Linked DNA regions of Homo sapiens: all the other regions are linked to region 1. The links are contacts of gene promoters, found by promoter capture Hi-C in blood cells and fetal thymus (Javierre and others, 2016). All regions are on one chromosome and are shown on one strand. The core of a region is centred on a gene start or on the middle of the fragment in contact, and the rest is flanking DNA. Distances in the headings are between cores, read along the strand shown.

What was found. The method cuts DNA at HindIII sites, captures the fragments that hold promoters and counts their contacts. A CHiCAGO score of 5 or more calls a contact.
Region 2: a contact is called between the fragment with the promoter of RCL1 here and the fragment with the promoter of PUM3 in region 1, in 1 of 17 cell types (fetal thymus). The highest score is 6.6, in fetal thymus.
Region 3: a fragment that was not itself captured here is called in contact with the fragment with the promoter of PUM3 in region 1 in 1 of 17 cell types (fetal thymus); the score reaches 5.5 in fetal thymus.
Region 4: a contact is called between a fragment that was not itself captured here and the fragment with the promoter of PUM3 in region 1, in 1 of 17 cell types (activated CD4 T cells). The highest score is 5.9, in activated CD4 T cells.
Region 5: a contact is called between a fragment that was not itself captured here and the fragment with the promoter of PUM3 in region 1, in 3 of 17 cell types (fetal thymus, non-activated CD4 T cells and total B cells). The highest score is 8.2, in fetal thymus.
Region 6: a contact is called between a fragment that was not itself captured here and the fragment with the promoter of PUM3 in region 1, in 2 of 17 cell types (non-activated CD4 T cells and total CD4 T cells). The highest score is 7.3, in non-activated CD4 T cells.
Region 7: a fragment that was not itself captured here is called in contact with the fragment with the promoter of PUM3 in region 1 in 2 of 17 cell types (M2 macrophages and total B cells); the score reaches 6.9 in M2 macrophages.

The regions. Positions count from the first base shown.
Region 1 is chr9:2,842,009-2,845,793 of GRCh38, reverse strand. PUM3 (pumilio RNA binding family member 3) reads left to right here and starts at 1,699. Exons shown (of 18, transcript NM_014878.5): 1 at 1,699-1,749. RefSeq lists enhancers at 1,368-1,607, 1,431-1,725, 2,109-2,670. The HindIII fragment of the contact is 3,665 bases long and covers 1-3,430 here.
Region 2 is chr9:4,791,297-4,795,081 of GRCh38, reverse strand. RCL1 (RNA terminal phosphate cyclase like 1) reads right to left here and starts at 2,138. Exons shown (of 9, transcript NM_005772.5): 1 at 1,855-2,138. The coding sequence starts at 1,990. RefSeq lists enhancers at 1,388-1,887, 1,962-2,011, 2,832-2,881 and a silencer at 2,092-2,451. The HindIII fragment of the contact is 3,785 bases long and covers 1,031-3,785 here.
Region 3 is chr9:4,746,711-4,750,495 of GRCh38, reverse strand. No RefSeq gene overlaps it. Among named protein-coding and RNA genes, the nearest start is that of AK3, 7.4 kb to the right of the region's middle. The HindIII fragment of the contact is 4,823 bases long and covers 1-3,785 here.
Region 4 is chr9:4,685,667-4,689,451 of GRCh38, reverse strand. It overlaps CDC37L1 (cell division cycle 37 like 1, HSP90 cochaperone), which reads right to left. Exons shown (of 7, transcript NM_017913.4): 3 at 846-939. Among named protein-coding and RNA genes, the nearest start is that of CDC37L1, 8.0 kb to the right of the region's middle. The HindIII fragment of the contact is 6,570 bases long and covers 1-3,785 here.
Region 5 is chr9:4,662,803-4,666,587 of GRCh38, reverse strand. SPATA6L (spermatogenesis associated 6 like) reads left to right here and starts at 108. Exons shown (of 12, transcript NM_001353486.2): 1 at 108-376. The coding sequence starts at 338. It overlaps PLPP6 (phospholipid phosphatase 6), which reads right to left. Exons shown (of 1, transcript NM_203453.5): 1 at 1,330-3,785. The coding sequence ends at 3,325. RefSeq lists silencers at 180-259, 270-319. The HindIII fragment of the contact is 2,038 bases long and covers 232-2,269 here.
Region 6 is chr9:4,598,052-4,601,836 of GRCh38, reverse strand. It overlaps SPATA6L (spermatogenesis associated 6 like), which reads left to right. Exons shown (of 12, transcript NM_001353486.2): 12 at 1,028-3,521. Among named protein-coding and RNA genes, the nearest start is that of PLPP6, 62 kb to the left of the region's middle. The HindIII fragment of the contact is 1,919 bases long and covers 1,046-2,964 here.
Region 7 is chr9:4,348,059-4,351,843 of GRCh38, reverse strand. It overlaps a transcript of GLIS3 not described here. Among named protein-coding and RNA genes, the nearest start is that of GLIS3, 50 kb to the right of the region's middle. The HindIII fragment of the contact is 1,899 bases long and covers 840-2,738 here.

The DNA.
Region 1 (3,785 bases), core at 450-2,949:
GGGTGCTGCTGTCTGTCGAGTTGAAAACACAAACGTATCCCTTCCCAGGGTTGTGTGATAGGGTGTATTTTGCGATTTTTCTTTCTTTTTGGCCAGCATTTACTTGTCAGGTGTTTCAAGGTGTCTAATATCCCCACTACTATGCTATTTGCCCAAAAGGCACAGCTGATGGGCCTCCTGCAATTCCTGTTCCATATTCTCTTCTCTTAGCATTTACTGAATTATTGAAAGCAGTACGGAGGCAGCCACGTTGAGTTTAGAGTCAGGCTCACTGGACCAAAGCTACTATGTTTTGCCTTTCTCTGTAAAATGAGAAAAGACCTATTTAAAACGTTCTTATGAGATTTAAATGAGCTGAAATGTAAACTAGTAACAGTTAAGGTAGACGACAAGAACTTATCAAGTATCTATGTGCTGCATAGTGAGATAAGTGCCTGGAAAGTAATGATGGCCCCTGTCATCAAGAAGCATACAGTCTACTAAATTACCAGTTTCAACTCTAACTCCTTAGTGGCCAGAAAACGGAGTAAGTTGGAAGACAGTAAAATCTGAAGTCTGGCACCAGGGATCAAGTGCCAGTTCCTCAACTTTACAGATGCAGTGGGTTGAATAGTCTCCAAAAGATATGTCTATGTCCTAACTCCCAGGACATGTGAAAGTGACCTTATTTGGGAAAAGGGCCTTTGCAGATGTGATTAAGGACCTCCAGATGAGATGATCTTGGATTATCCCCGTGGACTCTAAATTCAATGTTCAGTGTCCTAAAAACACACAGAGAAGTGGCACAGGCACAGGAGAAGGCCATTAGAAGACAGGCCGAGATTGGAGTCATGCAACAAGAGGCCACGGACCGCCTGGAACCGTTAGAAGCTGAAGAAGCAAAGCATTCTCCCCTAGAGCCTTCAAAAGGTGCAGGGCTCTGCCAACAGCTTGATTTTGGAATTCTTGCCTCTAGAACAGTTAAAGAATAAAATTCTGTTGCTTGACACGAGCAAGTTTGTGGTGTCAGTTTCTTCATCTGGAAAATGGGGCATATATCCTAACCACAATCTTATTTCCTGAAGTATAAAATGGAATAACAGCAGTTTCCAGGCACGAGCAGACACTAAAAATGGCAAACATTTATTGAGAGCGTTCCATGCTAAGCGCTTTGCACGTATCACTTAATTATTTCTATTTTATTGATCAGGAAGCCAAAGCTCATAAAAACTGTAATTTTCCCAGAGCCACACAGCTAGCAAGTGAAAAAAACGGGATTACAATTCAAATCGACTCACAAGATACCCCTTTTATCCTCCACGCTGGACTGCTGAGGAAGTATGCAAATTAACACACTTTAGAAACTTTAGCTACTTCAATATTTGTTCAGGCTACGGGATGCAGGCCTCTTATTAACCGCGCCAGCCAGGTCTGTCCTTCAGCAGCCTGTTCTGCCTCGCAAGAGCTCTCCCTCTCTTTCCAGCACGGAAGCCACAGGGTTAATGACGTCATTTCCCGTGGCCGTTGTCGCGTCCTCCGCCCGACGGATTCTTGCAAGGGCCAAAATCCTCGCGCCTCAAGAGGAGGCATAACAGCAGCGGACCAATAGAAATTCCGAATTTTTGTATTCTCTGGGAAGCTCCACCTCTTAGTCCCTGATCCGCCGCGGAAGATGAAAAAAAGCGGCCCGGGGGCGGAGCAAGGCAAGGAAGCGGAAGCGGAGAGGCGGTCGGGATCCGCTGCGCGAGCTGTCTCGGTCCCACGTGTGCGGTGAGTGTGGCAGGCTCAGCGGTCGCTCTTGGGAGGGGTTCGCACCCTGCCGGGCGCTGGAAGTCGGGAAGGTCTCTCGGGGCTGTTGTCCACTGGGCAGTCTCCTCTGGCCTCTTTCTGGGCTAGGAGTTTGGGACTGACTGGAGCCTGGCAAGAAGGGCGGGACTGGCCGGGCGCGGTGGCTCACGCCTGTAATCCCAGCACTTTGGGAGGCCGAGGCGGGCGGATCACAAGGTCAGGAGATCGAGACCATCCTGGCTAACACGGTGAAACCCCGTCTCTACTAAAACTACAAAAAATTAGCCGGGCATGGTGGCGGGCGCCTGTGGTCCCAGCTACTTGGGAGGCTGAGGCAGGAGAATGGCGTGAACCCGGGAGGCGGAGCTTGCAGTGAGCCAAGATCGTGCCACTACACTCCAGCCTGGGAGACAGAGCAAGACTCCGTCTCAAAAAAAAAAAAAAAAAAAAAAAGAAGGGCGGGACTCCGACCTCTCTCCCACCACGTTGCCCTGCGTGCCGGGTTAGAGTGGACTAGCTTCACTCCGGAATCCCAGCCCGTGCTCGGCCTGATCAGCCTGTCTGTGCTACTTCACAAACCCCAACTCCAGTGCTAGGCGGTTTGCCTGAATGTACGCAGATTCTAAGTGCTGGGAGGAAACGAACTGGATGCTGAGTTGGCAGATAGTGGAGTCTGAAGAAGTGATCTTTAAACGGAGATTTGGAAGCTCAGGGAGTACTTCAAGCAGAGGCGATAATGGGCTAAGTTCCTGAGATGGGAGCTAGGAAGGAGTATAGTTAGAGTACAAGATAAAGTTAGCCGGATAGAGTGGAACTAGGTTCTGTAGGGCCTTGAAGGTCATGATGGGGAATTTTTTTTTCTGTACAATAGGAAAACATTTCCGTTCCTATTACCATGTGTAGAAAACATTGAAGACTTGTAAGCAAGTGAGAATCATGAATAGGCCCTGGTTCTCTTTAGAAAATGTATTACATTTGGAAGCTCAAGAGATTGTATTGGTAATAGTTTGCATTAGGGTGGTGACGTAAGGGACATTTAAGAGAACTAACTTATGGTTCAGCGTGGCAGAGTAGAGAGGAAAATGTCAAGGGTAACTCAGATTTCTTACTTGAGCAGTAAAGTAGATGATGTGCCATTGGCTGAGATGGAGGACGATAGGGCAGGGAAAAATAGTATATTGTTGTTTGTGGGGCAAACAACAATAACATAAAGAACAACATAGAGAATTATGTTTTGGACATATTAAGGGTAAGGTTCCTGTTAGACACATAATTAGAGGTATCAGATAAGCAGTTATACACAAGTTTGGACCCCAAGGAGAAGTTCATAATGGAGACATGATTTGGGAGTACTCAGCATAAAAAGCCAGGAGATTGGATGAGACCACCTAGGGAGAAGTGTGGAGAGAGAAGGGAAGTTCCCTAGGGCAAAGATTTGAGGAATGCTAACATGTAGAGGTTGGTCTATAAGAAAATGTCATTTAAACTGAATTTGAAGGATGGGTAGAAATTGTGTTGGTAGAGAGAATGGCTTTAAACTTCACTATTCTGATAAGAATAGTGGCTCCTGTGTGGTGGTGATGAGTGGGGTGAATTAAGACCACATTTTGAATGGCTGTGAATGCCTGAGTTGGAACTTTTTCCTGAAGGCAGTGGGAAAGCTTTGAAGCTATTGGAGCATGGAAATGACATGAAATAGGTGTGCTACTGGAAGGTTAATCAGGCAGCGGAAAGTGGATCAAAGCAGATAGGATCTAAACAAAACTGAGCAAGAGGTAACAGGAGCCTGAATGGGGTAATAGAGGGAAAGGAAAAAGGGGGGCGAATTCCAAGAGACACTATTGAATGTGATGATTCATTACGAAGGTACAGGGTTCCCAAGCAAAGCAAATTGCATTTTGCCCAGTGCAAAAAGCAAGACTCAAAAAGTTACATATTGTATGATTCCATGTATAAGAATGCCATTCTGGAAAAGACAAAACAGGAGTGAAAACCTAATCATTGGCAGTCAGGAAAGA
Region 2 (3,785 bases), core at 889-3,388, 1.9 Mb before region 1:
AAATTAAGCAGACAAACATCTACAAGGTTTCTGAGGCCCTGAAGCCAGCGCAAGGATGTACAAATAACTAGGAGTCTCTTTCTTCCCCTGGTATATGAACGGGGTAAGGCAAATAATGCTCTACAGTAATGTTCCCCATAAAATACCAGCACACCTGCCAAGCAGTTCTACCTCCCTCAGGTATCAGCGTCTGACACCCTTTCAAGAAAGTGCCAAGTGGCCAAGCCCTGTTCTTGGAAGAAACGGGAGCTCATATGTGTGAGATGCTTTGAAGAGATGCTCACATACAGTGGAGGGGGAGAAGGAGAAGCATACTTTGGAACATTAAATATTAAATTGGAGGCCACCTGTCAATAGAAAAACTCTAAATAGAACTAGATTCATTTTAGAGAACCCAGGTTTCCAGGCTATACTTCCATTTCTCTGGAAAAAAAAAAAAAAGTTATGCCTACTTTTATACAAAGTAGAAGTCCATCTTCTTACCATATCCAGCTAGTGGCAAGTTCTCTGAGCTAACCTGAGGGTAAAGTGGATGGAGAGCTGGCTGAGAATGCCACACAGCAATCAAGCAAACACTTTGCCCAAGGGTCAAACTAAGTGGAACACTTGTTGACGGAAAAGTCGTGGCATAAACCATTTGTGGTCTCTCCCTAACTTTCTCAGTGTTTTTGAGCAGTAGAGAGAGGACAGGAACCACCAACACAAGTTTTTCCTACCATCACTAGGTTTCTCACCACTGTACCTGGGATATTCTGCTTCTTTCCTTCCTAACCTATCTCCGTCAATAGCATGGCATCTTCTGCCCTTTATGTGCAGCCAATCACCACCCAAGAGAGGCAGAGATCTAACTATCCAAAAAATGCATTCAGACAGATAAAACAAGAGCCAGTGCAAAATGAAACACATCAGCGCCGCTCAGGAAGCTTCCAGGACCAACCACAAACACTCTTTTTCAATTTACAGACAGGTTTTTTCCTTTTTCACCTGACTACTGACTCGCCCAACTTGGGATAACCACCAGTCAGAAGCTTTTAAATGCATGTATCTCATGCCAGGGGGCCAGGTGTAAACCAAGGCCAGTTGAAAACCGGCGCCATTTAATGAGATGTGGGTTTAAATGGGCCTATTTCTTTTTAACCTACCATTGCAGAGCAAGAAGTGAGCTTGGAAGCCTGCAGTTTAGCGATTGTCACCGACCCCTTTTCTAAAGTCAAGGCAATTAGGCCCATGACTGTTAAAAGTCTATCTCAAAGCTCCTGTCCTGCGCACATCAATCACAGTCACGGCTGAAAACAAACACAGAATTTTAAAAATTTCTTTATCCACACCCAAGGACAAGTGTGAGGGCAGCCGAGAAATCATGGCGACAGGAACAGCCGGTGTCCAAGGGGGCAGCTGCTTCTGAGAACTGCTTTGAGACAGGGCAGAGAACCAACCCAAGGTACTTTTCTCTCCCAATGTCTCTCCCCCGGCTCATTCACCATATTTCGGTCCAACAAACTGTTTTTCTCCTTTGAGAGGTTTATGGCGAGGGCAAGAGGGGCCGAAGGGACGCGAAGGGGCGACGCCAGGGATTTGTTGCTACACGTAAAGCTGGAAAACGTGCAGCTGTTTACTACCAGCGCCCCGGAGACGCCGAGCGCAGCTTGCAGCTGAGCGCTCCCCTCGGGCCCCGACCCCGCCTCCCCCACTGTGCCTGCCCCTCCGGCTTTGGAGGCGACGCGCCACCTGCCCTCCCCGACGCGCTCGCCGGACGCCGAGCCGCCCAACCAACACCGCGCGGGCCCCCACGGCATCAGCTCGGTCTCCCCTCAGCCCCCGCGCCCACGCCGCGCGCCGCCCACACCAAGTTACCTCGGAGGCCCGGGTTGTCGTCTCTGGCCCGAATCTTTCGGATTTTGACGGGGCGCCCGCTCAGGGTAGACAGGACCAGACGTTGGCGCAAGAAGTTGCACCCTGCGTAGCTGAGGGAGTGCGCCTGAGTCGCCATGTGCGCGCTCTCCGAAGAGACGTGAGCAGCCCGAGAGCGGCGACTTCGGACAGACGCGGGACTCGTGACTCCGATGGTGGTGGTGGCGGCGACACCGACGGCGGCGGCTCGGGCTGCCTCCAGCAGCCCAGACGCGTCCACGTGGTTTGGAACAGGAAGACGGAGAGACTAGACACCGGGTCAGAGGGGAGCGGGGCGGAGCCAGTGGCCACCTCCCCGCCTCCCCGCCCGACCGGGGCGGCCCCCGCTTCGGGCCACGCCGCTATTGGCCCGCGCCGGATCAGGGCGGTGCCCGCGCCGCGCCTCCATTGGCTTCCGCTGAAGCTGGGCGGTGCCCAAGCCGCGCTGCCATTGGTCCGTAGTGGAGCTGGGCGGTGCCCGGGCCCTGGCAACAGCGCGCGGCTGGAGGGAACGCGGGAGGATGGCCAGGGAACCCCGGCGCGGGAGTTGCCAGTCGGGGCAGTCTCCTCTGTGTACCTCCTGGCGTGGTAGCAAGGGGAGATGGCGGACTGAGATTGATGCCTACGACGTGCCGGATTCTTAGCATTACTACTTACGGCAACTACTGGGGTGAAGATGCTATTATCTACCCCTCCTCTTTCTTACTAAGAGAGACAACAAGGGTTGGTGCACTCACCCTATCGCAGGGATGCCGCTCAGCGCACTGCCGGCGCAGTCCCGCAGCTCCATGCTGTAACCCTGCAAGGTAGAGCCATCCTGTCCTACTCATGGATAAAGGCTCGAGGAATATTGCAAAGCTGACAGTGGCAGCCTATACTGAGACCCGAATCCTCCCACAGCAGGCCGTTGCTTATTTTATTGAGACACCTCTTTGCCCCTTTCTCACGGGTCCCTTCGTTTATCGTCATTGCGTTTCATGGCAATTCAGGCCCTCCTACCTCGCATGCTTCAAGATAGATAGTTGTAATAACTTCACACACACACACGCGCGCAATGCTTTTTCCCTCTTTCCCGTCCTCCTCCAATCCTGCACAAGAAAATCTTCCCAAACGTTGGATTATTTCACTTCTCTACTCAAAAACCTTCCAAAATGTACAGTTAACTAACAAATGACTACACAAGTAGAAGTCCGATATCATAGTAATGTGGGTTTGTAGCCATTCCTGGACAACACTCACCAAACCATGAGTCCCAGAATGCACGGGGGTTCGCGGGGGGAAGGGGGGCGGGGTATGATAGTGTCTGAAAGCGGTGGGAGTTTAAGATTAAGGGATGTAGCTAGCCTTATGTAGACAACAGTGTGTTATAAAGTGGAGTGGAGTGGCATGCTCATGACTCACTGCAGCCTCAACTTCCCGAGTTCTAGTAATCCTCCAACCTCAGCCTCCCCATTAGCTGGAACTACAGGTGTGCACCACCATGCTCAGCTAATTTTTGTATTTTGTATAGACATGGGTTTTTGCCATGTTACCCAGGCTGGTCTCAAACTTCTAACCTCAAGCGATTGGCCCACCTTGGCCTCACAAGTGTGAGCCACCACTCCCAGCCTTTAATCCATTTTTCTTTGATTTTTGTAAATGGCAAGAGATAGAGATCTAGTTTCACTCTTTTGCATATGGATATCCAATTTTCTCAGCATCATTTATTGAAGAGACTGTCCTTTCCCCAGAGTATGTTCTTGGCAACTTTGTCGAAAATGAGTTTACCGTAGCTGTGTGGATTTATCTCTGCGTTCTCCGCTCTGTTCTACTGATCTATGTGTCTGTTTTTATGCCAGTACCATGCCATTTTGTTTACTCTAGCTCTGTAGTATAATTTGAAGTCAGGTAATGTG
Region 3 (3,785 bases), core at 372-2,871, 1.9 Mb before region 1:
ATGTCTGTGGAGGGGGTGGTCTGGTCCAGCATAGAGTATCAGAGCCCCAGCCAGATAAGAGTGTCCATATATCAGGCTGATGAGTGGTCGGTATGGAATTCTGTAACCCAAGTGGGGTGAGGAGGACATAGAATAAACTAAAATATGTGTCAATATTATTTTCTTATGGTACAGGCTTCCTCATTGTCCGTCTTTCTTAGGGCTTTCTCAGATATTCTTATTTATCTTTCCAAGTGAACGTCCTAATAAAATTGTCTTAGCTCTAAGGCGCCCTCTTCTGTTTCTTTTGCAAAGTGTTAAACAATATGACATTGTAGTATCTGAGTTCCACCTTCTCTGTTCTGTTCCTTGACTTTTGTCTAGACCTTATCTTTCTTTTTTCTCTAATATCCTTGTCTGGATAATTTGAATTCTACTCCCAGAAGTTTCTCCTCAGAGAAAGCATTTCCTATATGCATCCAGTACAATTTGAAATCACTAATTTAGCTGCTGAATAGTTATGGAATTTGGGGCAAAATTATCCTCATTTTTTAAATCTATAAATTGTAAATGAAATGTAATTTATTTCATAAGGGGTTTTTTTTGACAACTAGAAGTAATTTTCTTTTTTCTCTTTTTCCTTTTTTTTTTTTTTTTTTTGAGACAGTCTCATTCTGTCACCCAGGTTGGAGTAGAGTGGCACGATCTCAGCTCACTGCAACCTCCACCTGCCAGGTTCAAGCGATTCTCCTGCCCCAGCCTCCTGAGTAGCTGGGACTACAGGCAGGCGCCACCATGCCTGGCTAATTTTTTGTATTTTTAGTGGAGACAGGGTTTCACCATGCTGGCCAGGCTGGTCTCAAACTCCTGACCTTCTGATCTGCCCACTTCGGCCTCCCAAAGTACTGGGGTTACAGGCGTGAGCCACTGTGCCCAGCCTAGAAATAATTTTCAATCAGTTCTCAGTCCTACCTATCAGCAGAATTTGACTCATTTCATCATATTCTTCTTGAAACACATTCTTCAATTGACTTCCACGACACCATACTCACCCAATTTTCTTCTTAATTGGCCTCTCCCTCTCTTTCAGGTTTTTTCAATGTTTCTTCCATATCTTCCAACCTCAAAATGTTAGACAACCTCAGAACTCAGATTTCAGACCTCTCCTCTCTATCTAAAGTTGCTCCCTAGTGAGCTTGTACCATCTCAAAAATTTAAACATATTGACAACTCTCAAATTTATGTCTCCAGCCTGGACCTCTACCCTGTGGTCAAAATTTATACATCTGCCTCCTTCCTTATTTTCTCTGCCTGGATGTCCAACAGGTATCTCGAAGTTAACTTATTCCAAAACAACTCTAATATTTTCACCCAACCTGTTTCTCTTATAGTCTTCCCAATCTCAGCTAATGACAATTCTATTCTCCCAGTAGCTCAGGAGAAATCTCTTTTTTTCCCTCACTTTAATCCATCGAATCCACCAGGGACTCACGTTGGGTCTACATTTAAACTATATGCAAGAAGAGGGCATCTGCAGAGGAGAGCTGCCCAGCACAAGTGCCAGAGTCTGAGTGGAGTGAGGAAGATTTCTCCATGTAGACGGCAGTACAGTGTGGCTCAGGGTTTTGGAGTCTGCACAGAGTGAGTAGAATGCTCATAGTCATAAGCAGCCTGGCCTGTGATGTCAGAGCCCAGAAGTGGTGAGAAGGATGTCTTTGGAGGGCGTGGTCTGGTCCAGCATAGAGTGTCAGAGCCCCAGCCAGATAACAGCGTCCATATATCGGGCTGATGAATTGTCGGCATGGAATTCTGTAACCCAAGTGGGGTGAGGAGGACATCTGCATGGAGAAAGGGTAGGCAGTGGTGATAGAAGGTTGGGTATACACAGAGTGACTGATCATAAATGTGGATACATGAAGGACATGAGAGTCTGTTAGAGACACTAACTCAAAATCCAGAAGCAATGTGTTACTCTGTGTTAGGTAGATAAGAATAAAAGAAGACTGAATGTAGTGGTTCACACCTGTAATCCCAATATTTTAGAGGCTGAGGTGGGAGGATCCCTGGAGCCCAGGTATTTGAGACCAACCTGGCCAACATAGCAAGATCTTGTCTCTACTAAAAAAAATTAAAAATAAATAAATAAATAAAAATTAGTGGGGAGTGATGGCATGTGCCTGTAGTTCCAGCTACTTGGGAGGCTGAAGCAGTAGGATCAATTGAGCCCAGGAGGTTGAGGCTGCAGTGAGGTATGATCATGCCACTGCTCTCCAGCCTGGGTGACAGAGTAAGACTCTGTCTCTAAAAAATAAAATAAAATAAAATAAAAATTGGTGGCTTCAATATATGAGGAGAAGACAAGACTAGGATTGTAGTGAAGGATGGAAGGGAAAAAATGAAAATAAATCCTAGAATATTAGATCAGAAATGAAGGTATCAATGTAAACTCATGGCTTCAGTAATACATAGATAAACATAGAAATAAATGTAGATGTAAACGTGTGTGTAAATGAATACAAACATATTTACATATTCCTTAGCCCTGTCCTCTGAGAGGGCCTTAAAGCAGCAACACATTAATAGTAATGAGCACACTGAATGCACGGGCCTCAGTTTCTAAATTCCATATTCCACTAAAGGAAACCAGGGATTCTTGGAGAAATGGTTGATCTCAGCCATTTCAATGTGTTGCTGGGTCTAGGAAGTCCAAGATGAACCTGGACCTTCTTATGCCAGAAAGTAAAGAAGTGCACAAAGAGTAATGGGGACATGCCAAAAGGACACAGATGCTAGCTAACACGAAGGAGATTCCATTAGCCAAATCTTAAATGATTTGAACATCAAAATAAATAATAATGACAATGGCTTACAACCAATTTAATAAAATAAGAAACCATATAAATAAATGTAAGATAGTGAGTAAATTAAAAGTTTGATGAAAGATAAGGTATTTACAAAGTCTGAACTTCAACTACCCTCTTACAGAATACTTTTTTTTTTTTTAAAGACAGGGTCTCACACCGTTGCCCAGGCTCTAGTGCAGTGGTACGATCATAGCTCCCTGCAGCCTCCACCTCCTGGGCTCAAGTGATCTTCCCACCTCAGCACCCCACTCAACCCACTCCCTGAGAGGCTAAGAATATAGGCTGGGCCACCATGCCCAGCTAATTTTTTTTGAATTGTTGCCCAGCTGGTCTTAAACTCCTGAGCTCAAGCAATCCTCCCTCCTCAGCCTCCCAAAGTGCTGGGATTATAGGCGTGAGCCACCGTGCCGGGCCTAGAATACTTGTTAATTACAAATGGAAAAAGAGTAATTTCATAGTGGAGAGATCCTGCAGACACCACCTTAACTGGGTGATCAAAGTTAGCATCATCAATAATGCAACACATTAAAATCATATGCCATCTGATAGAACATAACAAAATCACAGCACTACTTCTGTAATATTATCTACCAAAGATGAATAAGCTGAATAGAATCATGAGAGAACATCAGATAAACTCAAAGAGAGGGTGTTCTACAACATAACCTTCCCATAATCTTCAAGAGTGTCAAGGTCATTACACTGGCATAGTATGGGAAGTTAAAAAAGAAAACAAAACAATGAACAAAGAGTGTCAAAGTCATAAAAGTCAAGGAAAGACTACGGAATTACTCCAGATTGAAAGAGAACTGAAAGAGAATAAAGACATGGAAACTGAATGCAATGTGTGATCTTGAAAATCACACAACTAAAATTTACTGTATGATTTCATAACTTCTGTTATAAAGAACATTAGTGGAACATTTGGGGAAAACTGAATAA
Region 4 (3,785 bases), core at 372-2,871, 1.8 Mb before region 1:
AACGTTGGGTAAATAAACACCAACAGGAAAAAGATTTCAAAATGCCATGTAAAAAGTTCATGAACATATTACAAATAAAAACCATGTTTACTAAATTAACATACTACTTGGAATTAAAAAAAAAAAAAGTTTTAAACCTTAACTCCTAACACTTCCCAGCAGCATTTTCATGCCAGCGGTATCATGCTGCCTATAATTCTCAGAACACACCATGCTGTTTCCTAACTGCCCGTCTCATGCTGTTGCTGTTGGCTTGCCTCCCTTATACATGAAAAACTCCTATCTGTTCCTTGAAATCAAGCTCAGATGCTGGCTCCTCTGGGAAGCCTTCACTTGTATCAACCCCCCTCTTACCCTTTTTCCCCAATAGAAAAAACCTATTTTTCAGTTCTTTATATATACATTTCTATTACTATATTTATCTGAGTAACAGTTCAAGGATCTGCCTGAATTATAAAGCATCATATCCAAAACCTGAAAAAAAATGAATAATCTTTAAAACATAAGATAATCAGATTCCAAGGAAGCAAAGAGGAAAAAGAAAAAAGCAAAGACTACTTAGGAAATGGAAAGAGGCTATGGAATACATAAAGTTGTCTTAAAGGTAGTACACTATATAATAATACTTTTGCTTCTCTTTACCATTTGGTTTGCTCTGTCAATTAATTTTATTTATAACCAAAAAAAAAAAAAATTCTAAAACAAGATCTATACAGCTGTGCCAGAAGCTACAAAATTGGAGTTTGCCACTTTTCTTTTTGGCTCTCTTTTTATAAATCCATTTTTTGCACATGTACATATGATACCAAACATTACAAAGAAGGAAATCCAAGTAGTAGACTTACCAAAATGTCTGATTTTTTGCTCATATTTTTGCATAAATGATTCTGATTTATCTTCATCTTCTGTGTCTTTTCTTTTATCTTGATTAATAAAACTCTAAGAAAAAATTTTAGAAATTTAAATCAGATTTTAAATTCTAATTGAATCTTCTTTCTCAGATACTGAATATCTAGCAATTCTTCCTATAGACAATATATGTGGTATAGTATCATACTGATATTACATGATTAAATTCATCTGGTAAACTATTTTTAAAAATTAAAATTTTCTTGTATGGGAGTCTTATTAATTTTGTTTAAAATGATGTATGAGGCCGGGTGTGGTGGCTCACGCCTGTAATCCCAGCACTTTGGGAGGCCGAGGCGGGTGGATCACGAGGTCAGGAGTTCAAGACCAGCCTGGCCAACATAGTGAAACCCCGTCTCTACTAAAAATACAAAAAATAGCTGGGCATGGTGGTGGATGCCTGTAATCCCGGCTACTCGGGAGGCTGAGGCAGGAGAATCTTGCGTGAACCCAGGAGGCAGAGGTTGTAGTGAGCTGAGATCATGCCACTGCACTCCAGCCCAGGCGACAGAACAAGACTCCATCTCACAAAAAAATACATACGATATATGTGTGGATATAGGTTCATCTTAGAAATCATACAGAAAAACAACTGAATTAACCTTTTTGGTAAGCTGAATTTCCCAATTAAAAGCAGGTATAGAAACATCCTTTATATTTTATATGCATAGTTTACTTGTGCATTATTTAATTCCTATAAATATTTGCAACTCTTGCCTAATCTTTCGAGTTCTTGCTGGAAATAAACTCAGAAATTCAAAGCACATAGAGAATAAATGATATTTACCGTAAATTCTTTATTAAGACATAAACAAGAAATAGACTGTTGTTGTTGCGTGTCTTTTTTTTTTTTTTTTTTTTTTTGAGATGGGGTCTTGCTCTGTCACCCAGGCTGGAGTACAGTGGCACAATCATAGCTCACTGCAGCCTCAACCTCTTGGGGTCAAGTGATCCTCCCACCTTAGCCTCCAGAGTAGCTGGGACTACAGGTGTGAGCCACCATACCCAGCTAATTTTTAAATTTTTTGTAGAGACGTGGTCTTGCTATGTTGCCCAGGCTGGTCTTGAACTCGTGGGTTCAAGCAATCCCTTCACCTTGGCCTTCCAACGTGCTGGGATTATAGGCATGAGCCACTGTGCCTGGCCCTTTGTTGCATTTCTAATAAACTTCTTAGAAGAGACCAAACAGTTTGATTTTTAAAGTCAAGTACAAATTTCTATTAAGGAAGTACTTATTTTCAGTTAAATAAGTCATAAAATATACCAAGAATAAAGTTTGTATCTAGCTAGAAAAACTGGCAGAAGTTTCTTAGAACATTCTGTGATCATATTTATACCCCGTTATCATCACTGCCAAAAATAAAAATTGCAAACTAGATCACTGCCAGTTTATAATCAGGAAGCACTCAAAAGTTTACATATTTCAAAATAAAAGATTTTTTCTTCATGCAGTCTGACATCTAGACCAGCACTGTCCAATAGAAATACAATCCAAGTCACAAATGTAATTTAAAGTTTTCTATTAGCCACGTTAAAAAGCAAAAAGAAACAGATGACATTAATAAATTATTTTATTTATCTTAACATATCCAGCCTATTATCATTTCAACATGTAAGCAATACAAAACAATTATTAATATTTTACTTTTTTTGGCACTACATCATTGGAATCTGGTGTGTATTTTACACTTACAGCACATCTCAATTCGGACTAGCCACATTTCAAGCACTCAATAGCACATGTGGCTAGTGGCTATCAAGTTGGATAGTGCAGATCTAGACCAGTCCTCTCAAGTCTCAAGCTCCCAGACAAAACCAGTGTAGGATTTTGAGCAAATGACTGGAACATAAAGATAGTCCTAATTAATTTGTGAGATAAATGTAGGCTGTCTTAGAACCTTAGAACCTAAGTTTAAAGAAATAATTAAAAGCAGAGACAAAATGAAAATATTTTCTTTGTGACCACTGTGTTAAAGAAGAGACATTAACTTTACAAAACAAGAAATATTACTTTGAACATTCCTTCTGGAAGAAAAAAAATTATTTTCAATAGTTTTGGGATATAAATGCAGAACAGAAAATAACACAAGATGCACCCCTTAAAACAATATATACAGATATAGCAAATGACTCAGATAAAGAATGATCCCATTGTGGAGGGGGAGAAAAAGTATATATAAATTAGTACAGGCACAGAGAAAGTCGAGAAAGATATGACTCACTGTTAAAGTACTGATAGGGCTAGTGGCGATGTACACTTATCTGTGTGTGTTACTGACTGCTGTAGCAGAACTAGAGCTGGTCCAGGGAAAGGCAATTAAAAAAGTTCATGAGAGTGGGTGAAAGCAGATGCCAAGAGGACAATTAAGAAGTTTGAGATGTGTTTCACTGTTGCCCAGGCTGGAGTGTAGTGGCACGATCTCGGTTCACTGCAACCTCTACCTCCTGGGTTCAAGTAATCCTCAAGCCTCAGCCTCCGAAGTAGCTGGGACTAAGGCAATACAGGCACATGCCATCATACTCAGCTAATTTTCGTATTTTTTATAGAGACAGGGTTTCATCATGTCAACCAAACTGGTTTTGAACTCCTGGACTTAAGTGATCTGCCTGCCTTGGCCTCCCAAAGCGCTGGGATTACAGGTGTGGACAACTAAGCCTGGCCTATTTTTCAATAAATATCATTTTATTCCACATTTAAAATACTAGTTCATGAAGTTTTGCCTTTTCTCCCCTTTTCATGCATTTGAAAATCAATCGCTAAAAACTCTAGTTTTCAAATGGAAAACTGAGGTATAAAACCCTGAAGTTTGAAAAACATGAGATTTTAAAAGTCTAAGCCTTCATTCTTAAAGGCACTTAATAAAGGATATTCAACA
Region 5 (3,785 bases), core at 1-2,500, 1.8 Mb before region 1:
TCCGGCTGGGGGCACTGCGTGGGCAACAGCGACCGTGAGGGCGCGCGTCTGCGCTGGGGCCTCGCGCGCGTTCCACGATGAAGACTGCGCGTTTGAGTGTCCCTGGCAACGCCACGCTTCCGCCTTCTGGAAGCCTGCACTCCAGCTTCGAGTGTGAGAGACCCGTCCCGGTGGGAGGGACCTGGGCTGGGGGGGACGGTAGGGGAACAAGGGCGTGGGACTGGGGAAGCTTCTGGGAACATTTGCTCTAGGTATTCAGCTAAACTAAGAAAAATTGGTCCAAGGCTCGGCACAAAAGGATCTTCTCATTCCAGTCCTTTCGCCCACGCAGGGAACGATGCCTCTGGAGGTGGTGGTGGAGCTGCAGATCCGGGCGGTAAGAGATCGATGAACTCCCCCTCCTTAACCTCAAGTCGGACTCTAAATAGTCTCAGGTGGTTTTCAACAACCCTCCCCCACATCCCCCACTTACCACAAACACATCATTATCTTCTGGGACAGATCGCACCTTTGTCTTTTTCTCCATATTGGTTTTCCCTGACTTCCTAACCTTTAATTCAGCTCCACCTGTTCCCACTTTTTTTTTTTTCTGTTCTAAAGCTAACATGTTTCTTATCTTTATCATGAATTTTTAATTTCTTTTCAAACAACCCTGCATTAAGTCCAGGTAGAATTTATTTTCTTCTCCTGGATAAAGATTTGTGAAAGGATTTTCAACTTCTTTAAATAACCAGGGAATAATTTTAAAAAGCTCCATCACTTCCTGATTATTTGCCAACTCTATGAACCAATCAGATATTTTCTATGATATTTCCCCTTAGTGATAGCTCTGGCTTGCTAATTCCAAAAGGGAAATCAATCAATCACTATTTCGTAATTACCAAATCCTTCCTAAGTGAAGTGCTGTGGCAGAGTGACTCCATGGTTTCTACTTGGGGGTCTGTCACTCCCTCTTATTTCAGTTTCCATTTTCCAATCCTTCCATGTAGTTAGTAACAGAATATCATGCCGCTTTTCCTCTAGGGGCTTTTCTACTGGCTATGATTACAAGCACAGTGCTAACAGGAAATTGTCATGGAATCTGGTTGTCTTCCATACAATTGGCAAATGGTGTGGTTTCATCATACATGTGGGTGTGAAAGGTGATCAACATTTCCTGGATTTGTCCCACTTTGCTGACAGCAAATAGGGCTAGACCTTATTAGTAGTGCTATACCAGTTTTAAGCTCTAAAAATTGTGCAGGAAGAAGGAACTCTTGAGAAGCTAAGTGATAAATCTGTCTCCCTCCTCATCAAGGCAAAAATTAAGCAAGTTTTCATCTCACTTCATTCACCATTATTTGTTAATTTTATTTTGATTTTTAAAAGGCATTATTCAGTGTACAATTAACAAAGAAATCAGTTTTCTACTCTACTGTACTTAGGATGCTTCAAAAACATCAGGTGAAATGATCTATGCTTTAAGAGCCAGAAAACTCAGGCCTCAGCAACTAAAACAGAGAATTCCAAAATTGTAATTACAAATCAGATGGTAAGCCTAATTTCATGCCCCTAATATTCAGATTTGTGGACACTGCAAGAGGAAATATCATTTGCTTCCAAATATCTGGCTTGAATATTGCTGCAGTTAAAGGATCTCGCTAAGGTTAAACAACAAACCCAAACCACTTAGAGCTTCACAGTTTAGCTGCTTTAGCAAGTGAAGAGGTAGTCGGTATTCAGGATGCTGTGGGAATGCAAATGATTTGATTTTGAGGCATGGCTGTTCCTTTTTCACTATGCCCCTCACTCTGAACAAGCTCATGCTTTCACTCAATCAAAACCTACTTATCACAGCCGTTCTCCAGGTTCCGAACCTCCGTATGGCAGATCAAAGTCCATAATCATTTCTATTTATAAATGCCAAAATAGTCATTAAGATTATCTGAGGACATCACTTCCATAGGTAATTTAAAGGATTTCTTTTCAGGTAGAGCAGCACTTAAAGCACATACCTTCTCCAGTCTTTCTGGGTCAAAGAATAATGAGCAGAGTCCACCCTGCGTTTGGTGGTCTTTGGTCTTATGATTTGGGGAGGCACCATGGATGAACAGCTTTAAATGTAAAGGTCAATGTAAACAGAAATTTTGGAGTTTTATCTTGTGCCTGGTATAGCAGCAGACTCCCATGATGAATTTCAAGTTAAATACTGTTACCTAAAATGTGCTGTACCTCAGAAAACGGAATTCCATGTGAAAAACTGTAGCATACAGGTATATACGAGAAAGCTTATGTTCTTGCATTGAGAAGACGTTCCTTTTCCCCACTTTATTACCCTGAAAGAGGAGCATTATTCTTTATTCAGTGGAGATGACTGGCAGCAGGGCCCCATCTCCTGTCATACTGGTCACTGGCATAATATGTGGTCAGCCTATTCCCAAACTTTCAGTTCCTCTAACTTTCCCCAGCAACTTAGTTTCTCTGCCCTCTCTCATGCCATGTTACGTTGTAAACAAAAATAAGCATGGGGCCATGTCCCATTCTTCCTCTTCTATGAGCATCTTAGATATGCCTACCTTTTAAGTGATTCCTCTTTAAGCAAGTTGGCTTTTTCTCTGAATGCTAAAAGACAGTAAGGGAGTAGTGGGAAATGCATAAAGATCTTTTGAGGGATGGAGGGAGAGGAGAGAAAGACAAGTATTATAATCTCTTTTCCCACTACCCGATCCACAAATATGGATAGAGATAATAAATTATAGAGATAATAAAGTAAAAAAGCTTACCAAGAAAATCAGGATTAAGAAGAAATCTCCCAACTGTGGCAACAGATCTTCAGGGAATAAACTAGAAAAACCTATGTCTTGGACTTTAAAAATACTGTTTAAAATCTACCTCAGGAAAAGGACTAGGATTAGTACATGACCTGTCTGCATGTATATTTACAGAATGAACATCATGTTTCTTTCTCGAAGTTCAGTTTACAAGTGGTATGTTGATTTAGGGATTATCACAAAACACAAATCTTACTGATACCAACTTTTAACAGCAACAGTATAACCACCTCAGCTTGTTTTCTTTGCAGTTGTCCTGGAAACATAAACAGTTGTTGAATAAATATACAATAGAGGATTTTTTGGGTTTTTTTGCTTTCCCTAATATGGCTGTGTTCAGTAATGGCCAGTGTGTGCTCCAGCCTAGCAGCACATCAAGATCATGGGACACCTGAAATCCCAAAGGAAGCCTGAAATGCCTAAGAGGGACAAGCGGGATGGCTGCTGGTTTAGGTTGACATCATCGAATGTGGAAACCTTCAGACTTCCTGGTGCCATAATCAATGAGATGGTGTCATCGTTGACTCCACAGTAAAAAGAGGACCGGAGCATTATGGGGTGAGAGCCAGCAATAGTCCACGATGCTGTACTGCATGTAGCCCAGAAAAAAGCCAAAAGCTACGTCGGTGACATTGTGCCGCCCCAGCATGACCCTGGATAGGCCCAAGACGAAGGCCCACAGAACCACCAGCACCCTCAGTGGAATGGCCAGCACCAGGTGGTTCAGGATGAACCTCGACATCAGGGCGGCCCTTGTGGCATGGCCCGAGGGGAAGGAGTACTTGTCCACCGAGAGAGTGACAAACATGTCCATCTGGTTGTGGGCCGGGCGGCGCCTGCGGACCAGCCCTTTGATCAAGGCCACCAGCAGCAGGTCCAACAGCAGGGCGAAGAGCAGGTTCATCAGCACCTCGCGCCCGGCCCAGCTGTCGCTCCTGCACAGGCAGTAGAGGGTGCCCAGCAGCCAGGGGATGC
Region 6 (3,785 bases), core at 756-3,255, 1.8 Mb before region 1:
GAACAGGACAGCCAGAGCCACTCCTGTGGGTTGGGAGGACAGACCCCAGGCAGGAGGCATCCCCCACACACAACCCAGTGGCTCCCACTACGTGTCCCAGTCCCGGCTTTTCTTGAGGACTCTCTTCTAATGGCAGCACCAATTCCTGTCCCTCCCCTTCTCCATATCTGTTTCACTGCCAGGTCCTGGCTCCCCAGCGATCTCGAGATCTCAGGGAGATGAAAAAGTAGATTCTTACCACAAAAAGGTCAGGGATTCTTGAGCCAAAAACAATGAGTCCCATTGTCTGACCACGTAGAGGGAGAGAATGGGTGGAAGAAATGGGTTGAAGGGGTTGGAATACATCTATTTCTGGATCTTTTGGGACTTGGTACTTTTGGTATAAACAGAGTATCCCTTGTATATTTAAAATTGGTGAATTTTACCACACAAAAACCAAACATCCAAAAAACCAAACAAAAAAAAAAACCTCCCGTAAAGAAACCCCTCAGATTATCCCTAGTTCTCTTGGAAGGCATAATTGCCGTGAAATCCCGGCCCCCAGTGTGCAGTGCCAAATTACAGAGCAAGACTCCATCAAAAAGAAAGGAAAGAAAGGAAGAAAGAAGGGAGTGAGGGAGGGAAGGAAGGAAGGGAGGAAGGAGGGAAGGGAAGGAAGGAAGGAAATTTGTTCAGTAGAATATAGTTAATTGGAACACGTTTAACAGCTCAACTGAATAACACCTATTTTGGCACATTTACTATGTAGCAATGCTAACTCTTCACTATAATAGTAAGAGGTAGATACTCTGTCATCATCCTGATATTTTACAAAGACGTCAAGTAAATTGTCCAAGGTCACACAGATGCTCACTGGGTTATTCTGTTGTGGGAATCTGGGGAAAAAGCTCAGAGACTAAGTGATCCCAAGGCATAGCTACATGCCAAGATTGGGGTAGTATGACATTATCTTTTTCTCCTTACTTGTATTGATTGTTTGCCTTTTTCTCAATACCACATGTAGAATGTGATGTTTCAAATTTTGCAGGGGAAATTAATGAAAGCTTAAGGAGAATCATGAAGAGCTCACTCACTGAGACAATTGAAGCATCCTTAAAGAAATGAACACTTTTTGTTGTCTGTGTTGAGTCACTGATGTCTAATCCCCTTTAAACCAAACCCTGTACTCAGTCTTTTGTGCCCAGGTAAGAGTTGTTGATTAAAGTGTTTGCTGTTTGGGGGCTAACATTTTCTTGTCAAGCTGGAAAATTTGTGTTTTTGCATGTTTGTTTTGAACATGAAAGAGAAAGCGCTGTAGTTGGGTGGCAGGTGCTTATCTGAACACTTCCCCTCTCTCTCTCTCTGGCTCTCTCTGGCTCTCTCTGTCTCTCTCTCTCAAATTAATTATATATGAGCTAGAGGAAGTTGCTATTCACAGGAATAACCTGATAAATCCTCCAGGAAAGACTATCAACCTGACTTTCTCTTTTCGGTAGATCCGTTTTTGTTGTTGTTTGTTTATTTCTTAGTGTTAGGCTTGATTTACGTGAAGTCCACTAAAAACCTTGGAAAAGAGAGCATTACGTCTGGGTAGTTCAGATCTTGTTTTAGATGTTGAATGTCTGTGATAAATTTGTAAGAGGAGGCTGGCTCCTCTGGAGCGTAGTTTAAACTGCTCCTTCTGTTTCCTACTCCTTCGTTCCAGCAATTCTTTGTAAATTTAGATGAGGAACAAAACCTTCCTCAAATATTTCTCCAAAAGAACTACACATTAAGTAAATAGGTTCTACAGATAGGACTGCCAATGCCAGGTTTTAAAGTTAGTTAGGAAGGTGCATCTATGAAATGCTTACACAGTGTGAGGGAGCAGGAATAGGAAGGGGCTGGGATAAAGGGAGACTAGAGGCACATTTGTCTTCATTGATACAGACCCAGAGAAGAGGGGCCTGAAAATGGAAACTTATTTCCCTCCTTCATAGTGTAAGCATAGCATTTTCCTCTACCAGCCCTACTATAGTGTGAATGTTTGTGTCCCCTCAACATTTGTATGTTGAAATCCTAACCTCTAAGGAAATGGGGCCTTTTGGGAGGTGATGAGGTTGTGAGGGTGGACCCCTCATAAATGAGATTAGTGCCCTATAAATAGGCTCAAGGGAGCTCGTTTGCCCCTTCCACTGGCGAGGAGACAGCGAGAAGGCGCCATCTCTGACCCAGGAAGAGGGCCCTCACCAGATTCTGCATCTGCCAACATTCTGATCTTGGACTTCCCAGCTTCCAGAACTGTGAGAAATGAATTCCTGTAGTTTGTAAGCTACCCAGTTTATGACATTTTGTTATAGCAGCCTGAATAGAGTAAGACACTACCCTAAAACTTGTTCAGTTTTTAGAAGATTCAGTGAGAGCCAAGTTTTCTTTTCTCACTGTAATCATAGGGATTGGTTCATTAGGTAAATTAAGAAAATGAAATTAAAAATTAAAACAGAAAAGGAACTCCAAAAACAAAAACAACAAAACAAAATTCATTTATCCTCTTCTTAGAATTTCAGCCAAATAAAGGTATATCCAAGTTGAACCTCCCAATCTAAAAATCTGAAATCTGAAATGCTCCAAAATCCAAAACTTTTTGAGCACCAATATAACACCATAAGTGAAAAATTCCACATCTGACTGCATGTGGCAGGGTGCAGTCAAATGCATTCGAAACTTTGTTTCATGCTCCAAATTATTTAAAATCATGTATAAAATTACCTTCAGGCTACCTGTATAAAGTGTATATAAAACGTAAATGAATTTCGTGTTTAGACTTGGGTCCTATCCCCTATCCTGAAGATACTTCATTGTGTTTATGTAAATATTCCAAAATACAAAAACAAAAACCAAAACCCAAGTTTAAAATACTTCTGGTCAGTCCCAAGCACTGAAGATAAGGGAGACTCAACCTGTATCACAACCAGCATTCCACCTTGGCAAGGCCAACAGCAAGCTTAAATTACATATGCTAATATGTTCTCAGTCTCTCTGAAACTATGGTTGTCAATTTGTTGTTTTGATGTTACCTCTAAGTAGTCATCAAAAGTAAGAAAATATTGTGTTACATTAAGGTTACGCTATAAGTCTCAGGAGAGGGCTGCTTACGTAAGCAGCTAAAGGAAAGCAGCACTAATGAATTGGTATCCCATTTCAGTTATTGTTAAAATATACACCATGACATTCAATATTCAGTGTTTTTTGAAATGGTTTAAGCATAACTCTTTAATAAGATCTTAAATGCCCATTCTTATTTAAAGTCATTTTTGGTTTTCACACTAAATTACGCTTTTTTTCCCTTTACTTTTGCATCTATTAACTCTATTCCTTAAATTATTATTATTTTTACTTTTGTTTCTCAAGGAGTTATCTCAATTTTGAGGAATCATGCTGGGGCAAGGATTGCAGTTGAAGTATTTTGCTTTTGGAGTGTATAATAGTATGAATAATTTTGTGATGTTTTGGGGTTTGGATTACTTTGGGAAGATCTGTGTCATTAAACATCATAAAAAGAATTCCCATCTGTCTTGCTTCAGTTTATAATTCCTTTCTTGATTTTTATGGTTGCAGATCTGTCAAAGCCTGGAGCATATTTTATGGGCATGTTTCATGGGGTCTTGGTTTGCAGAGGCTCCTAAGAAAATCTCCTTTGTGGAACCTAGGCCCTCCAAACAAAAGCTGCTGTACAATGAGGCCAGTTCTCTGTGGTCACCTGACTGACCCAAAGTTAGCTGAAGCCTGTAGGCCATGAATTATAAAAGAGATTTTTAAAAAATGAG
Region 7 (3,785 bases), core at 540-3,039, 1.5 Mb before region 1:
TCTGAAAATGACTTCTTTGTGCTCCAGTTTTCTAGCTTAAAGATAAAATTGGATTCTTTGAAGAGGCTTAGAAACTAATTTTAAAAATCTAAGGCCCATCAGTAAGTGACAGAGAGTCCTTTGGGTATCATTTGTGCTCCCTAGTTCAAGGAAAAACAACATTTTTTTAAAAAAATGAAATCTTTCCTTATCATTTGATGTTCATCATTACCGAACTACATACTTTTTTCTCTTTTTGCCCATGAAAATTTCACTAAATCTGAACAATTAAATGGAAAATTCCTTTTCAACTACTGTGATAAATTGAGTAATAAAGAACTCTTAGAGAAAGATATTTTTGTGTTTTTCAGTGTATATTCTAAACTTTTGTAATGAACTCAAGCACTAAATATTTTATGAGATATGTAAAAGATTTCTCCTCACCCTCCCTTTTTTTTTTTTTTTTTTGAGACACTCTGTTGCCCATGCTTGAGTGCAGTGGTGCGATTACAGTTCACTGAAGCTTCAACCTCCCAGGTTCAAGTGATCCTCCTTCCTCAGCCTCCCAGCTTATTGGGACTATAACCACACCCAGTTAATTGTTTGTTTGTTTGTTTCTTTTGAGACAGAGTCTCACTCTGTCTCCCAGGCTGGAGTGCAGTGGCCTGATCTTGGCTCACTGCAACCTCCACCTCCTGTGTTCAAGCAATTCTCCAGCTCCCTGTAAGTGTAGAGAGGCTATCCCAACCAGCCTTAAGGTCTAAGAAACAGGCCAGAATCAGAAAGAAATGGATTATTATACAGAGAAGTGAAGCCCAGGGCCCAGCACTTCAAGGCCTTGTATATAGATAGGACAAGCTTCATGGCGGTGTGACCTACACAGACACACAGGGCCCCAGGCTTAGAAGAGCCACAAATGGTTTATTGATCAAAGAGCCCTTGTTCATTTTGAACTGGGCCCCAAAATTACGTAGCTGGTTCTGGTACTAGTGGTACTAGGGAAAGTCCTGAGGAGACAGAAACTGGAAGAAAACAAAAACAAACAAAAACAAAAACAAAACAAAACAAAACAAACCCTGATGTTTTTTACCCCAAGGCATTTTGGGTAGAAGAGACATAGAGGCAGCAGAGACACATCAATCCCAACTCTTCCTTGGTCCAGAATGAAGGAGGATATTACTTGATTTGAGAGAAATACCAAAGGTGGGGTCTTTTTGTCCAATTTAACATTTTGGATTCTGGAAGAAGAGTTCAGTCTTCCTTATCCCCACCCCAAAATAGAGATAATAAAGCAGTTCTGAAAGAGACTTTAAAATAAAAATATTTTTAAAAATTTCAGAGAGATATAGTACGGCAGGATTATAAATTTACACTGTGCACAGGTGAATAGTGAAAATGCAGTTTAAAGAAATTTTCTATTACTTGATTCCATTTGTGTCAATTGTTTCTATCCATATAGAGATGGGAGGAAAAAATATAAATTTTAAGTCAAATCCAGTAAATGTGGCCCAGTGCAATAACTGAAATAGTCTCTTTAAGTTAATTTTCAGTCTTTTGATTTAAACGTGCCCAGTTCCTCACATTTCCGCCTATTCCCTCTTTGCTCTCCAAGGTGCTGGTGAATAGGTGCCTTGCGGGTATAGCAAACATGGCCATGCGGTGGTGGAGGAAGGGAGTCTCCCATCGCCACTGGGCCTTGTGATAGCTCTCGGTCTTCTCTGACCTCTGCGGTGATGGAACTCCTATGCCTGATCCCTTCTCACTATGCTGCTATCAGCTGTCTCTGAGCTGGTGTAACTTGCAATCTGACTCTCTCAGTTTGGTCAAAGTCAGTTTTGCCCCACTGCTCTTGGTCCGTCTAAGTCTCTTTCACATTCCTGAAGCCAGCTGGCCTGGGCTGCCCACCCACAGCCTCTGCAGCAGATTATCTCACTCTTGCCAGGACAGGCCCCACAGAAGATTCATCGATTTCTAGTTCAACTGGCTTCCAGATAAACTGAAGGCTAATGACCAATTCAGGACACCCTGAAGGCTTCATGACTTCATTTCTTCTTGCCACCATGAATTTAGGTTTCTTCTTCATTTCTGGTACCCGGATATTTTTCCTTTTTGCTGTCAAGCCCTGCTTAAAGTATTTTTTTTTCTGTCTTTTATTCATCATTTCTGTGTGCTTAGAGTGATGCTCTGTGTGTCCTCTTGTCTGGAAGTCCTGGAATCTTATTTTTGCTAGTAATTTGCAAGGTAAGTACTTCAGTTCCTTCCCTAAGTAAATGCAATCTAAATTAACAAAGTTTTGTTAGGTATTTTTTTCCTTTTTGGTCATCTAGCATACAGGGATTTTTTTCTGTGCAATGACCATTTCCATTCTCTTTTTCTACTCATCAATATAAATCCTCAACACCAATTAGACTCTACGAGAGGGTATTGTATGCAATGTGCATGCCAGGATACAAATAAAATAATTCCAGTTAATTATTAAGTAAATATAGGAACATTTACTATTATAAAGCATTTAGAAGAGTCAAATGCCTGGCTTTTATGGGTCATATAATCTACTTGGAGAAATATGGTTGCATAAAATATTTAAATAACATTAGTCTGCAGTTCTGCAAGTGTGCATACCAGTGCCACTGACAACACCTATCATAAACTGTTGTGGAAAGGAGAGATTGCTATCAACTGGGGTGTTCAGTGAAGCCCTCATGGCAAAGGCTTATTTTAAGTTGAAAGTTGAGGGATCAACTGATGTTTAGTAAGCTTAGATAAGGAGTAGTGTTGCATTCTCCTATTTTTATGTTGCATTCTCCTATTATTTTATTATTATTGAGTTTCATGAATGTTTTCCTCCTTCAGCTTCTTTTCTAATTAGAAATAATGTTTACTGGATGTTTGCTGAGTACAAATGTAATATATGTTTCCTATGGAAAAAATGAAAAACTATAAAGAAGAAGAAAGCACCATCCATAATTTTACTCTACAAAGCCAATAGACATAATTTTGATTTTATAATTTCCGTATTTTCTATGCACATTTATGTTGAATAAAAGTTGGAATCATATTGAGCTTATATCTTTTTAATCTGTTTTTTTTTCACTTAGGAGCATTTTCCTTTTTGAATAAGATTCCTCTAAAACATAACTTTTAATGACCGCATATTTACCATATTTGTTTAACAATACCATATTGTGAGTCACTGGGAGAAAGTCAGGTAGTTGAGTCCTCAAATTTCGTTCCCACCTTCTTTCATAATAAGATAACCCATATTTAAATGGGACTATATTATGTCCAATTAAAGGTCACATCTCCCAGCCTCCTTGGAGTAGGTGTGGCCATTGACCGAGTTCTGGCCAATGAGATATAAGTAGAATAGTTATTATCAATTTGAAGAAAAACTTCTTAAAGGGGGCTGACTCATTTGAGAGCAGCATTCTTTTGCTTTTGCCTCCTATCAGCTTCCCACTGCATGGGATGTGGAGGTGATGGCTGGAGTTCCAACAGGCACTTGGATCGTGAGATAACCTCAGAAAGCTGTTTCCCGAGGGTGCTGAACTGGCAGGAAAGAAACCTTGGTCCTCGATGATATTGTGAAGACACCATATTAGCATGGATGGCCTATTTCTGAATTTCTTTCAGGTAAGAAAGAAATATATTTCAGCTTTATTTAAATGTTCTCTTACATGCAGACAAACCTAATTCTAACACAGATACTTAGGCTGATTCTGATTTTTGCTGTTATAAGTTATGCTGTAATTAACATACTTATTCAAAGATCTCTGTGCATTTTAGAAATTTGATAATGTATTTCT